Linked DNA regions of Homo sapiens: region 1 is linked to region 2. The links are contacts of gene promoters, found by promoter capture Hi-C in blood cells and fetal thymus (Javierre and others, 2016). All regions are on one chromosome and are shown on one strand. Each heading gives the region's core, a stretch centred on a gene start or on the middle of the fragment in contact. The rest is flanking DNA. Distances are from core to core; before and after follow the strand shown.

Region 1 (6,081 bases), core at 3,490-5,989, 5.9 Mb before region 2:
GTGCCCGCCACCATGCCCAGCTAATTTTTTGTATTTTTAGTAAGACAGGGTTTCACCATGTTGGCCAGGCTGGTTTCAAACTCCTGACCTCAAGTGATCCTACTGCCTCGACCTCCCAAAGTGCTAGGATTACAGGTGTGAACCACCATGCCCGGCCTGCTTGTCCCTTTTTAAGTGTTTAGACTTTTCTCCACAGAGTCTCAACATATTCTCCTTGCATAAACTCATTCACAATAGAAATTTCAATGATTTACCTAAACACAAACAACTCCCTCCCAAATCTACTCAAGGCCAGACCTTTTCCCTCACACTAGATCCTCACATTCAGCTAGCTACTAGAAAAAAATCTGACCACCTAAGCTTCTTCTATCCACCCCTCCTCTCTGTTCTTACTCACACTGCCCCAACTGACTAATCAAATCTCTTGATTAGATTATTATTCTGTGAGGCAAGAGAGTGTGGTTAAGAGAATAGGCTTGCTATCAGAAAGACCTACATTCAAGTTCCCACCTCCACCTCTTCTTTGGTAGAACTAACTGTGTGAGCCAGGACAAGTTATTTTATTAATTCTCTCAGGGTTTCAGTTTCCTCACCTGTAAAATGGGATAGTATTAGTGAAAATCAAAACAACACTTTACTTGGAAAAAAGCATTCAGGTGCTCCTCAAAACCTATTGGCTTTTATTTCAAAGACAATTTAAATAATATCAGTTTCTCCTTATTCTTGATCCATTCTTATTTTTATATCTCCTTTCTTCTTTCAGAGGGAAGGTATATTTGTATACATACATAGATGATCTCACATTCTAATGACAAAAAGAGGGAGCAAGCTAAAGAACATGTTAGGCATAACTTTTGGAATAACTCAATTTGGGCCTTAGTAGGATCAGATTTTTATGGGACATTCCATTTGATTACAAACGCTAGCAATCAGCCTTTCATTTATAGCTTAAAAAAGGTTCTTCCATTCCATTCAGTAAAGTTCCATTCACAGGTAAGACAATATCATTTGACATCAATATATAATGTCAGCCAAAGTACTGGCAGGGAAAGGAGAAAGACTGCATAAAGAACTGTCTCTGCATATTTCTCATTGTTTCTTGGCAGGACTATGTCATTATGGCAAAATGAGAGCTCAAAGCGATAGGTAGTAGCTGCATGATTCATAAGTGTAGCTTGGAAATGCTCTTTCAGAAATCCAGATTCAGGGACTTGGCATCTTTGATGCTATACAGTTAGTAAACCAAATGTGACCAAAACAGAATGATAAATATGTTCATTAGTATTCAGCTAAAATACTTAATCTGATAAATCTCTGGTTAGCAAGCAATAATGATCCTAAATATTATTTAAAAACAATACCGCATAAATATTATTTATTTATGACAAAAAGAGGTTTGGGGGGGAAGCTCTTAGAATTATCATCAGCATTTATTTCTGAATTAATACTAATGCACATTTAACAATTAGATTAAAACTAGAGAGGCACTGGAAAGAGCATACATAGTCTTTGGAGTTAAACACACCTTAGTTTAAATACTAATTCTATCTCTTGTGAACTAATTGAGCAGGTTACTTAAATTCTCTAAGCCTATTTCCTCCTCACCTATAAATGGAGATAATACTACCCAACTGACAGGGTTATTTAAGAGATCAGTGATGATAATGTATAAATTAACAGATTTATACAATTGTACATATTATAAAGTAATAATATTGTATAATTGGCTATATTGACATATAGTTGCTCAATAAATGGTAATTATTACTTTTCAAATAGAGCTGACTGAACAACAAAAATCACTAAATAGTCATAAAGGACACTCTACGGTCAATTTTGATCCTAATGACTAAACTACATAGAGGTCAAAACAGCTAATAAATCTAAAACAATCCACTTTTGCTTTTTAAATACTTACACTTATTTTTGCAGCAAACTAACTAAATCCAGGTGAAGGCTATGCATAATGGAAACAAAAGTTTGGCTATGTTCAAACCAATCTTTTAAAAGTAAGTTATTTCCCAATACATTAATAATTTAAGAACATGTTACAGTCCCCACAACAATTAACAGAATGTACCCTGAGGTCCACCTCTATCTTGCTGTTATATACCCAGTGTCAATACAGTGTCTGGCACATACTAGGTACCTAGAAAATATTTATTTGCGGTCTACATACACTCACTTAATATTACTCCAGAGTAGTGATCCAATACTAGAAAAACAACCCAAAGTAATAAAGGAGCATATTTGAAAAGTAGTTTTAATAGACAATTCATCAGAAATTTCTTAGTCTCTAAAAAGGCCTTATTAAACCACTAGCATGAGACCACTGTGTAAAGATAAGTCAAAATCAGAGCATTACTTGAAGAAAAGTTCATCAGTTGGTAGATAAGGAGGAATATCAGACAAAATGAAAGTCACCAGTGACAACTTTCAAAGAGCTAATAAGAGGGGCTACAACTCTACAAATAAAAACAAAGATATATATTCATAATAAATTGAATGAGGAAAGATTTAAAATAACCAAGGGATCCTAAATATTTTCCAAGTCTGTTCACTCTTATCATCCACCTAAGAATAGGATTTGCTCTAGTTGATCAGATTCAGTTTACTTTTACTGATTTTTTATTCTTTTCCGCCCCCCCCCCCCCAATTATGTCACCCAGGCTGGAGGGCAATGGCGCAATCTTGGCTCACTGCAACCTCCACTTCGTGGGCTCAAGCCATCCTCCCATCTCAGCCTCCCGAGTAGCTGGGACTACAGGTACATACCACCCCACCCGGCTTTCTTTTTTTTTTTTGAGACTGAGTCCCGCTCTATTGCCCAGGCTGGAGTGCACTGGTGCCATCTTGGCTCACTGCAATCTCCACTTCCCCGGTTGAAGCAATTCTCCTGCCTCAGCCTCTGAGTAGCTGGGATTACAGGCGCCTGCCACCATGCCCGGCTAATTTTTGTATTTTTAGTAGATATGGGGTTTTGCCAGGTTGTCCAGGCTGGTCTCGAACTCCTTACCTCAAGTGATCCGCCCACCTCGGCCTCCCACAGTGCTGGGATTACAGGCGTGAGCCACCGTGCCCAGCCTTTTACCGGTTTTCGATTGTGTGCTATGCACCGTAGAAAGCATATGAAAAATAGAGGAGCTTCGAACTGATGCAGAAGGAAGTCACGTGCACTTAGCTACTACATAATACATATCTGGAACCAATACAAGAACCTGATCCAATGTCCACTCTAGTCCTCTTTTCCTCTGTGCACCTTCTACGAGTTTGGTTATAGACTTAAGCACCCTTCCATTTTCAAAATTTAAGTACCCACAACTTGAATTCTCAAGTTATTTTATCTTTCTTCTCTTAAAAAAAAATGTTAAGGGGTTAGTTTTCAGAATCTTCAATTTTACTAGATACGGTATGCACAATGTTAAAGACAAGCTCCAATAAAAATTTATGTATACCTTTAAAAGGTTTGTGAAACATTTAAAAAATTTTTAAAAACACAAATTCTTCTTGGAACAATGAAGATAACGAACATCTGTGGTTCCCTAAATGAGCCGTAATTTTAAGATGGGCAGCAACTAAAGGGCTTCAGCTTTGCCAAAACGTCAAGAGGCTGCCTTGCAGTGGGCTCGCAGTGATTTTAAAATGTTATTCTTCTCGTCTCGATTTATGTTTTTCTCCCTCTCAAAGTTAAACTTAAATGTCGTTGGAAACGTAATTTGGTAACATTCTGATGTCATTTCCTTCCGTTTTTAAATTTGTAACGAAATAAAAATATTTGTTCGTTCTCAAAATGAAGGTCTTCCACACACAAAAATTAAGCATGGAGTGCAATAAGGTCAATCGAATAAAGCTGCATCCGACCTTTTAAAATATGGAATAACATTTTTCCCTTCTCCAGAACTCTTGACTACTGACACAGGACAATGCCTGAAGTATGAAGCACAGACACGGAAACACCGGATGCGAAAGACTGGAGACCGAGACAGCAAAGGGAGGTGGAGCGGAGTGCTGATCTCGGTTCCTCCAAAACTCGTACTGTGAATCTGTGACACGGGACAATGAAATGTGAGCAAGGACAAGCTTACACAGCATCATAATGTTAATTTGAAGACGGTTTTCCGGTTGATGAGGCAACGAAAGGCTGAAAGACTCCAAAGTTAAAGGAGCCCCAATTTTGCCCGAGAAAACGTAGAGCTAGGAGGGCGGTGACCAGTTTTCCCAGACTTATCTCTACGCACTCCAAGATGCTGAAAGTGGGACCCCTGCTCCTGTAGGTACAGGAGGCCTCTGCACCCCGCTTGGCCCAAGCTAACCCTGCCCTCCCAGACCAGGCCTGGCCAGACCCTCCCGCCCCGGGCCGGGTCTCCGCCGGGCCGGCTCCCAGCCCCAGTCAGGCCAGCAGAGCCTTCGTCTCCTCCTGCCTCAGCCGGGTCAGAGCAGGGCCCCTGAAGACTGGCGATCCCGCGCCCGACTACCTTGGTCGTCCGGATATGCTCCATCGCAAGGAGACGTCAGCCGGCAGCCGGTCTCACAGGCGTACCATACGGCTACAGAAACAGGGCGGTGACAGCGACAGAGAGCAAGCGGGAACTCCCTCCACCAGCCAGCGCCGCGGGTCTGTCTGCCGGCCCCGGTGGCGTCAACGGCGCAGGTGCAGCCGGTGAGCGCCGTCTCCTAGAAACACTTCCCCAAACCCCGCGGCCTCCCGGGGGACTCGGGGCAGGCAGACAGAGCGTGTGTGGACCGAGAGCGGCTTGCTGGTTCGTCCCGGACAGCGGCGGATCCCACAGCGCCCCCTGCTGGAGGAGGCCGGTACTGCTCACCACCCCACCCGAGGCGGTCTTTGTCATCCCGCCGAGCGGACGCGCGGGGCGGTCGGGGAGGAAGACTGCGTGAGAATGGATCCCGAGTAAAGGGTTCTTGTGGGGTGAGGGCAAGAGTGGAGGATGTTCTGAAGTCCATCGCCATACCACTGGACAGCACCAAATTTAGTTTGAGCTGCAGTTCTACTCATAAGAATGTATTCTAAGGAAATAATCAGATTTGGAGTTATTATTCTAAGGAAATAACCAAATAAGGAAACCAGCCTTATTTGAAACAATCAACTCTCCAATCCTACGGATTCCTTATGTAAAGTATGATGATTAGCTAGTCCTCAATCTGGTCTGGTGTCAGAGTCCCGCCTCCTACCTCAATTTCATACGATGTTAGCACCAGCATCCATTAAAACTCATCCTGTAGAGGGATATCACATAACGAAAATGTTAATGCTGCATTACTGAGTGAAGAAAAAACTGACTATGGAACAATAAGTTCAATGTAGCCGTGCTCTGTAATTTTTATTTATGTAAACAAAAAGTTTACATTTCTAGGTGAGGGTTACAGGTAATTTTTGTTAGAACACGTCTAATGTGGTACTTCTCAGCCTGGAGTGAGTTTTCTCCCCGGGGGACATTTGGTAACATCTGGAGATATTTTTGGTTGTCTCAAATGGTGGTGGTGGGGGGGTGGCGGCGGGGGGCAACTGGTGGGTGGAGGCCAAGTCACAAGTCGGCTGCTGAACACCCTACTAGGCACCAGACCAACCCCCCAACTACAGGGAATTATCCGGCAGATGACAACAGTGCAGAGGTTGAGAAACCCTGCTCTATGCCAGGCGCGGTGGTTCACGCCTGTAATCCCAGAACTTTGGGAGGCTGAGGCGGGCGGATCACTTGAGGTCAGGAGTTAGAGTCCGAGAAACTCTGCTCTACGTTTTGTAAGTATTCTGTACTAAGCCGGTTAAGGTTTGTAATCTTCATCTTTCATACTGTGATTGGTGTTAGAAAAGCCTAACATCTAAATTTTCTTTTATAATTAAAAATTTTGTTTCACTTATTTGTTTCATTTTGTTCAAGTTGTCTTGGTTTGTTTTGTTTTGAGTGCCTACGATGTTTCAGACAGATTGCCAAAGCAATGGAGATGGTTATTAAACACAACAGCCTTTGCGGTGGAGTTGCTGACTCCTCTAAGCTAAATATGTAATAAGAGTTACATTAAACCACCTAGAAACCAACCTTAGTACAGTATCACATCCACCCC
Region 2 (5,573 bases), core at 708-3,207:
CATTTTCCTAGGGGAGAATCAAATTAATTGTACTAAATAACAATTAGTAGCTGATACAATAGAATCCACCACAATTATAGTTTAACAAACATATTAAGGGGAACTCCAATACTGCCCTCAGTTCACATTTTTCAGGGCCATACCTGTTGTCTTTGATTTCACACAGTAGTCCCTGTATAACACAATTTTTTTTCCCACTCTCTTCTCTGAAAAGCTTTTCTTTGTTTTATTGGATCAACCAGAACAAAGTATAAACTGTATCTAGGCATGAAAGCCTGAAATACTGTTTTCTTTCTTACTAAACTCCAATTAAAAAAACCTTAACCAAAACACAAACTTAGATCTGCAGGGGTAGACGTACAGGTTGCTCAGAACAGTCTTCCTAACGTTACTAACATTGCCAAATATTTTGCCTCAGATTTTCCACTCAACTTTCATAAACGTTCTCAGCACCCAAATAATTGTATTACCCCAGTCATTCATTCTACCTTTAGGTTCAATGTTTTCATTTTGCACTTTTCATCCTGAGCTTGGGACATTTGAAAAAAATTAATAGGTACAGTATTTTCCTTGAGATGAAATCATTTGTTTTCATCAATGCACATGCAGATATGTTTGTATATATTCTCGTCCGAAAATATCCCTTCACGAAACTTGCTTTTTAAAATGTTGCCCTTTGCCCACCCTATGCTCCTATAGAATATTTAGTTCAGTGACGACATCCATCCTCTTTTGGCGTCCTAGCACAAAAGTATGCAATTTTTATTCTCTTTTAAATAAACTGTGCAAAATTAATTTTAAAAATACGGTTTACAATTCCTCATGAATGGCAAAGAGCAAAAAAAAAGACGTTTACATCTTTCGACAATGATCCCGGGCATTAAGGCCAACAATGTTAGCAACGAAGAGACTGGGTAAAAAGAGGTGGGCTAATCTTTCATAGGACTGCTTCCGTGGTCGCTAACAACAATCCGCCTGCTCACTGGACAAGCAGCGACACAAGCTCTGGAAGCTTCCAGTTCATTTCGAGATTCACAATGCGGAAGAAAAAGGCCGGCAGCCCCGCTCCGCGGTGCGCAAAGATATGCGCGAAGGGAGGAGGACAAGCTGGAGGCGGCTCAGCCAGCTCAGAGAGGCCGGGTGGGGATACGGGGGCGGCCGCGGAAGGCGCAGGCTGCAGCCTGCCAAGAAAAGGGAGCGAAGTTGCGGGCTTTGCCGCAGCCCGACCCCCAGTAGGTTTTGAAAACCCCCAATAGGAAGCCCGCACAAGGTGACGACCCTTAGAGTCTCGACTCTGGGACTCCTCTCACCCCCGTGAATCCCTGAGACAATCCCTTCTCCAATTTGTGATGGCAAGCCCCCCATCCCTCCTCTGGCCGGGTCGCTGGTCCCTAGTTCCACGGAGGGGTGCGCCGCTGCCCAAACGCCTCCGTTTGCCGCGGTGATCCGTACAGCCAGCCCGCGATCTTGGGTCCCCACACTAAGGGCCCAGAACCTCCTCCCATCCACCCTCGCAGACTCCCACTTACGGGGTGCACCGGTCGCTGAACTCATTGGCGATGGTCTCGATGCCCCCGGCCCGGGCTACCGCGATGTAGCAGCTCTGCGAGCCCACGTCCAACCCCACCACCGACATGGCCGGCTCGCGGTCCGCCTCCGCCTCGGGTCTCGGTCTGCGTCCTCCGGCCCCCTGCCTGCTTCTCCTGCCGCCGCTTTCTGCCCTGGCCGCGTTCTGCTCCGGCCCGCGGGGTCTGGCCGTTCCTCTGACACTCAGAAGGACACACAGACAGCCGCGGCCTGTCAGGAGCCTCCTACTCCCCCGGGGACAGCGGCGGCTGGCTGATAAGAAACCCTGGGAGAAAGCGGGGCTCAGCCTCCGCAGGTCGCTCCGCACCTCGGGTTGCCTGCCTCACTCTGCCGCGGCTCGCACACCGGCGCCGGCGCTGAACTACCGACCCAAAAGGGGAGGTCCCACTTCCTCAGCCTTATGTATCGCACTGATCAGAACTTTCCAGAATCTGCGGCATTTACTCACCGGCGCCTCCACCGGCCCCTCCACGTGCCACTTCCGCTTCCTTCTTCTCGAGCCTTCTGGAAAGATTCTACCCAATGGGCAGCCGGTCCCCGGAGAACGGCCGCCGTTGCCATGGCAGCGACAGGGCCGCTCCCGTGCCATTGGCTCAAACCTGCCTCCGCCCACTCCCGCCCTAGCCACAGGCGTTTTGCTGCCCTAATAAAACAGGCAACGAAGAATGACTCCAAAACTCGGAATAGTCACAATTTACTACCGGGAGGTGGTGTCCGATCCTTAACGCTAAAGGGAGGCTGGGCGGGCGGAGACAGACCCCATTTTTGCAGAGACCCCAGACACCGGGATGGTGGGGAGGCCGGCCAGCTGTCCGGAGAGCATGTTGGGAATCGTAGTCCCGCTGGGAGAAGTGTGCGCCTTGCATGCTGGGATGTGTAGTCCTGGCCGCAGTGCTTGCTGGGACCCGGCTTTGTCTTCTGGGACTCGCGAGAGAGGCTGGGTAGGGTTTTGTCTGGCGCTTTTGCGCGGGTTCCCTGGCAATAAGCGTCATTTTGTTCGTTTGTTTTGTATTCACTTCTATTATTGTCTGGATTACCCCGACAACTGGTGCGTTACGACTTAGGAGAAGGAACACCAGTTCAAACCGCTTATAATAAAAGCAAAGGGGTTGTGTTAAGTGTTCTTGTATTCATCAGGCAGCAGGATGATCTCTTGTGGAGTAAAATGTCAGGTGTTTTTTTTTTTAAGAAATCGATTTTTAGTTGTGACGTCATTTGGCAGGCTGTCCACGGTATCACTTTCTGCTTATTTTTAAAAGGTCTGATTTAAGCCGACGCTGTTCTACCCTGCCACTCCTAGCCATAAATTGGTACTGTGTGTAAGTTTTGCTTTTTGTTTGATCTGAAGCAGCTTTTGTTTCTTTCCCTCAGAAGCGATGTCCCCGTTAACTTTTGTTCAGTAAAGAGACAGTGTAAGAAAAGGTGGAACTGTGTTGCTGATAACTTATCAGGTCTTTTATACCCTTTTGTGTCTTTTTAAGTTTGCTTCTGATCCCTGAGTTTACCTTATGTCAGGCATGTGGAAGTATAAGCACAGTTCAAATATGTTATTGGATAAGCGTGTAATTGAATAAGGAGTTGTAACCTAAAGTTAGAAAAATCTAACTCATAAAGAGTATGGGAATTCCTCCTTGTCTATCAAAACAAGTTGGTTAAGTCAGAGGCAAGACGAAAGGCCCAGGTTTACATTACATGTAAATTGTATGTGCTTTTGCTAGTTTTCCTGCCACTTAGGTGGCTTACTTAACATGCTTCAGTTAACTCACCTTTAAAATGGGAGCAATAATAGTTATCACGGGGTTGTTGTGTTCTTACATTTGGACATATAGTTAGCTGTAACTATAAGTTATTTTTGTTATGCATCCCAAAAACTTGGTTTCTGTCCCCACCCCCCGCCCACCAACTTTTTCTTACATATCAAAACCTTATAATAAAATCCATGGAGACATAGCAATTTTGAACAGAAAGAACCTTTGAGATTATTTGGTCTGCTTCCCACATTTTAACTGCCGTACGAAGAGGAGACATGAACAGTTCTCAGTCTTTGGAGCCAGACAGATTTGGGTCAGGTTCAAATCCTTGGCACTCTACTAAGATGTTTTATATAAAGTACAGCTTGTAAGGGCACCAGGCCTCCTGGAGTCAGACATCATGGGCTTGAATCCTAGCTATTCTTATTTGTGAGCTGTGTGATGTTGCGATAATTACTAAGCCTTTCTGTATTCCATCTCATGGTGTTTATGTAATGATGGAAACTATATGTAAAGCACTAAACATATATAAACATAAACATATAAAGTCTGTCATCTTTGTCAAATTCCTCTTTGCCCTCTGTTTCCTCGACTGTAAAATGGAAGTAATACCTATTTTTGCTAGGATTTTGGAAGGATTAGATATAAATAAAACATGGTATGGTGGTATTTGATAAATTGTAGTAATAGAAGTAATATCATTCAGTGAAAGTCAGTACAAACTTTAATCTTGTACTGCTGTGGATGTGTTGTGTAGTCATGGTGTAGCCCCCTTTTATTTAATCGATTTGCCTTAATTATTCAGCACAACAGGTAAGTGATAAGAGGTTGTAAAATCTACCATATTTATTATCTAATTGAAATTCTTAGCTGGGCCAGGCATGGCGGCTCACATCTGTAATCCCAGCACTTTGGGAGGCCAAGGCAGGAGGATCACCTGAGCCCAGGAGTTTGAGGCTGCAGTGAACTATGATCACTCCACTGCACTGCAGCCTGGGCAACAGAACAAGAGTCTGTCTCTAAAAATAAAAAAATAATTCCTAGCTAGGTGCAGTGGCTCATGCCTCTAGTACCAGCTACATGGGAGGCTGAGGCATGTGGGTTGCTTCAGCCCAGGAGTTGAAGTCCTGCCCAGGCAATATAGCAAGACTATTAAAAAAATTCACTTTTAACACTTTATTATATTTTATTACTTTATATGTTTATATATTTTATTACATGTAGAATTTATCACACTTACTGTTGTAATGTCAGAAATTTTAAAATGAGACTTGGACCAAATAATGACAATCCCTACAAATCCTTGTTATGTAATTATGAATCCAATTATTAGGTTTCATTCCATATTTGTTTTAGAGAATAAGAAGGACCTCAAAATTGGAAGCAGAAACAGACCACTTCCAAAGAACAATAAAACAAAAATGCAAAATTAAGAAAAGCCCAAACAAAAATGCCATTCAAAGAGATAATATGCAGTAGATATAAAAAACTATGCCAGGCTTCCTTGAAAGGAGGAAGAGATGGGCAAAGGAGGGGATATGCAGATAGAGTAATATACATGAAAGTGCATATGACTTTGAATTTCTGGTATCAACCAGTATGGCAGTCTTCTCTATAACCAGCATAATGCCAGGGTCTGGAGGGTTACAGAAGTAGTATAAAACTTGTTCTAAATCAAGATGTGTTTTGTCACTTCTCTGCAATGCTGGGGCATCATGAATACTCAATTATCTGAAATCTTGTCCGTTTGAACCTTTTTCAATATTTGCTTACCAAAAGATTTTTGTTTTCTTCTTATATATTAACCTGAAAATGTATCTTTTAAACCTTAATTGGTTCTGCTAAAACCTATTTTGTCCTTATTTTAAGTTATAATAGAATGATCATCTAAAAATAGGAATGCATGGGGAAATCACGCAGGGAGCAGAGACTTATAAAAAGGTACACCTAGAAATAAGGTAAGTATGTTTTGTCTGGTAGGACATGGAAAAGATATGTAAAATGATGTTTCTTTTAGCCTAAAAAGGATCATATTTTGTAATAAATGTGGCAGACAAAAACTCAATGTGTAGGAAAATGTTCATGTCTGCCCCCAAACTCACTGTGAGCCACTTTGCCACTGGAACACCGTGCTCAGGCACACTGGCCCCCTACCCCACATCAAGGTGTTCCTTTATTCCCCTGCCTAGAAAATTCTTCCTCAGGCTCCTGGCTAGGCCAGTTCCTCATCCTTCA

Evidence for each region. Contacts are between HindIII fragments. The CHiCAGO score rates a contact against its expected background, and 5 or more counts as called.
Region 1: a contact is called between the fragment with the promoter of MTMR6 here and the fragment with the promoter of HSPH1 in region 2, in 1 of 17 cell types (total B cells). The highest score is 5.1, in total B cells.

Annotation. Positions count from the first base shown.
Region 1 is chr13:25,282,749-25,288,829 of GRCh38, forward strand. MTMR6 (myotubularin related protein 6) reads right to left here and starts at 4,740. Exons shown (of 14, transcript NM_004685.5): 1 at 4,476-4,740. The coding sequence starts at 4,499. RefSeq lists enhancers at 4,120-4,740, 4,444-4,783, 4,884-5,053. The HindIII fragment of the contact is 4,901 bases long and covers 4,079-6,081 here.
Region 2 is chr13:31,159,947-31,165,519 of GRCh38, forward strand. HSPH1 (heat shock protein family H (Hsp110) member 1) reads right to left here and starts at 1,958. Exons shown (of 18, transcript NM_006644.4): 1 at 1,530-1,958. The coding sequence starts at 1,636. It overlaps LOC105370148 (a long non-coding RNA gene), which reads left to right and starts at 2,714. Exons shown (of 3, transcript XR_941825.3): 1 at 2,714-4,151; 2 at 5,208-5,296. RefSeq lists enhancers at 1,052-1,597, 1,598-2,143, 1,755-1,834, 1,965-2,084, 2,315-2,584. The HindIII fragment of the contact is 12,297 bases long and covers 1,011-5,573 here.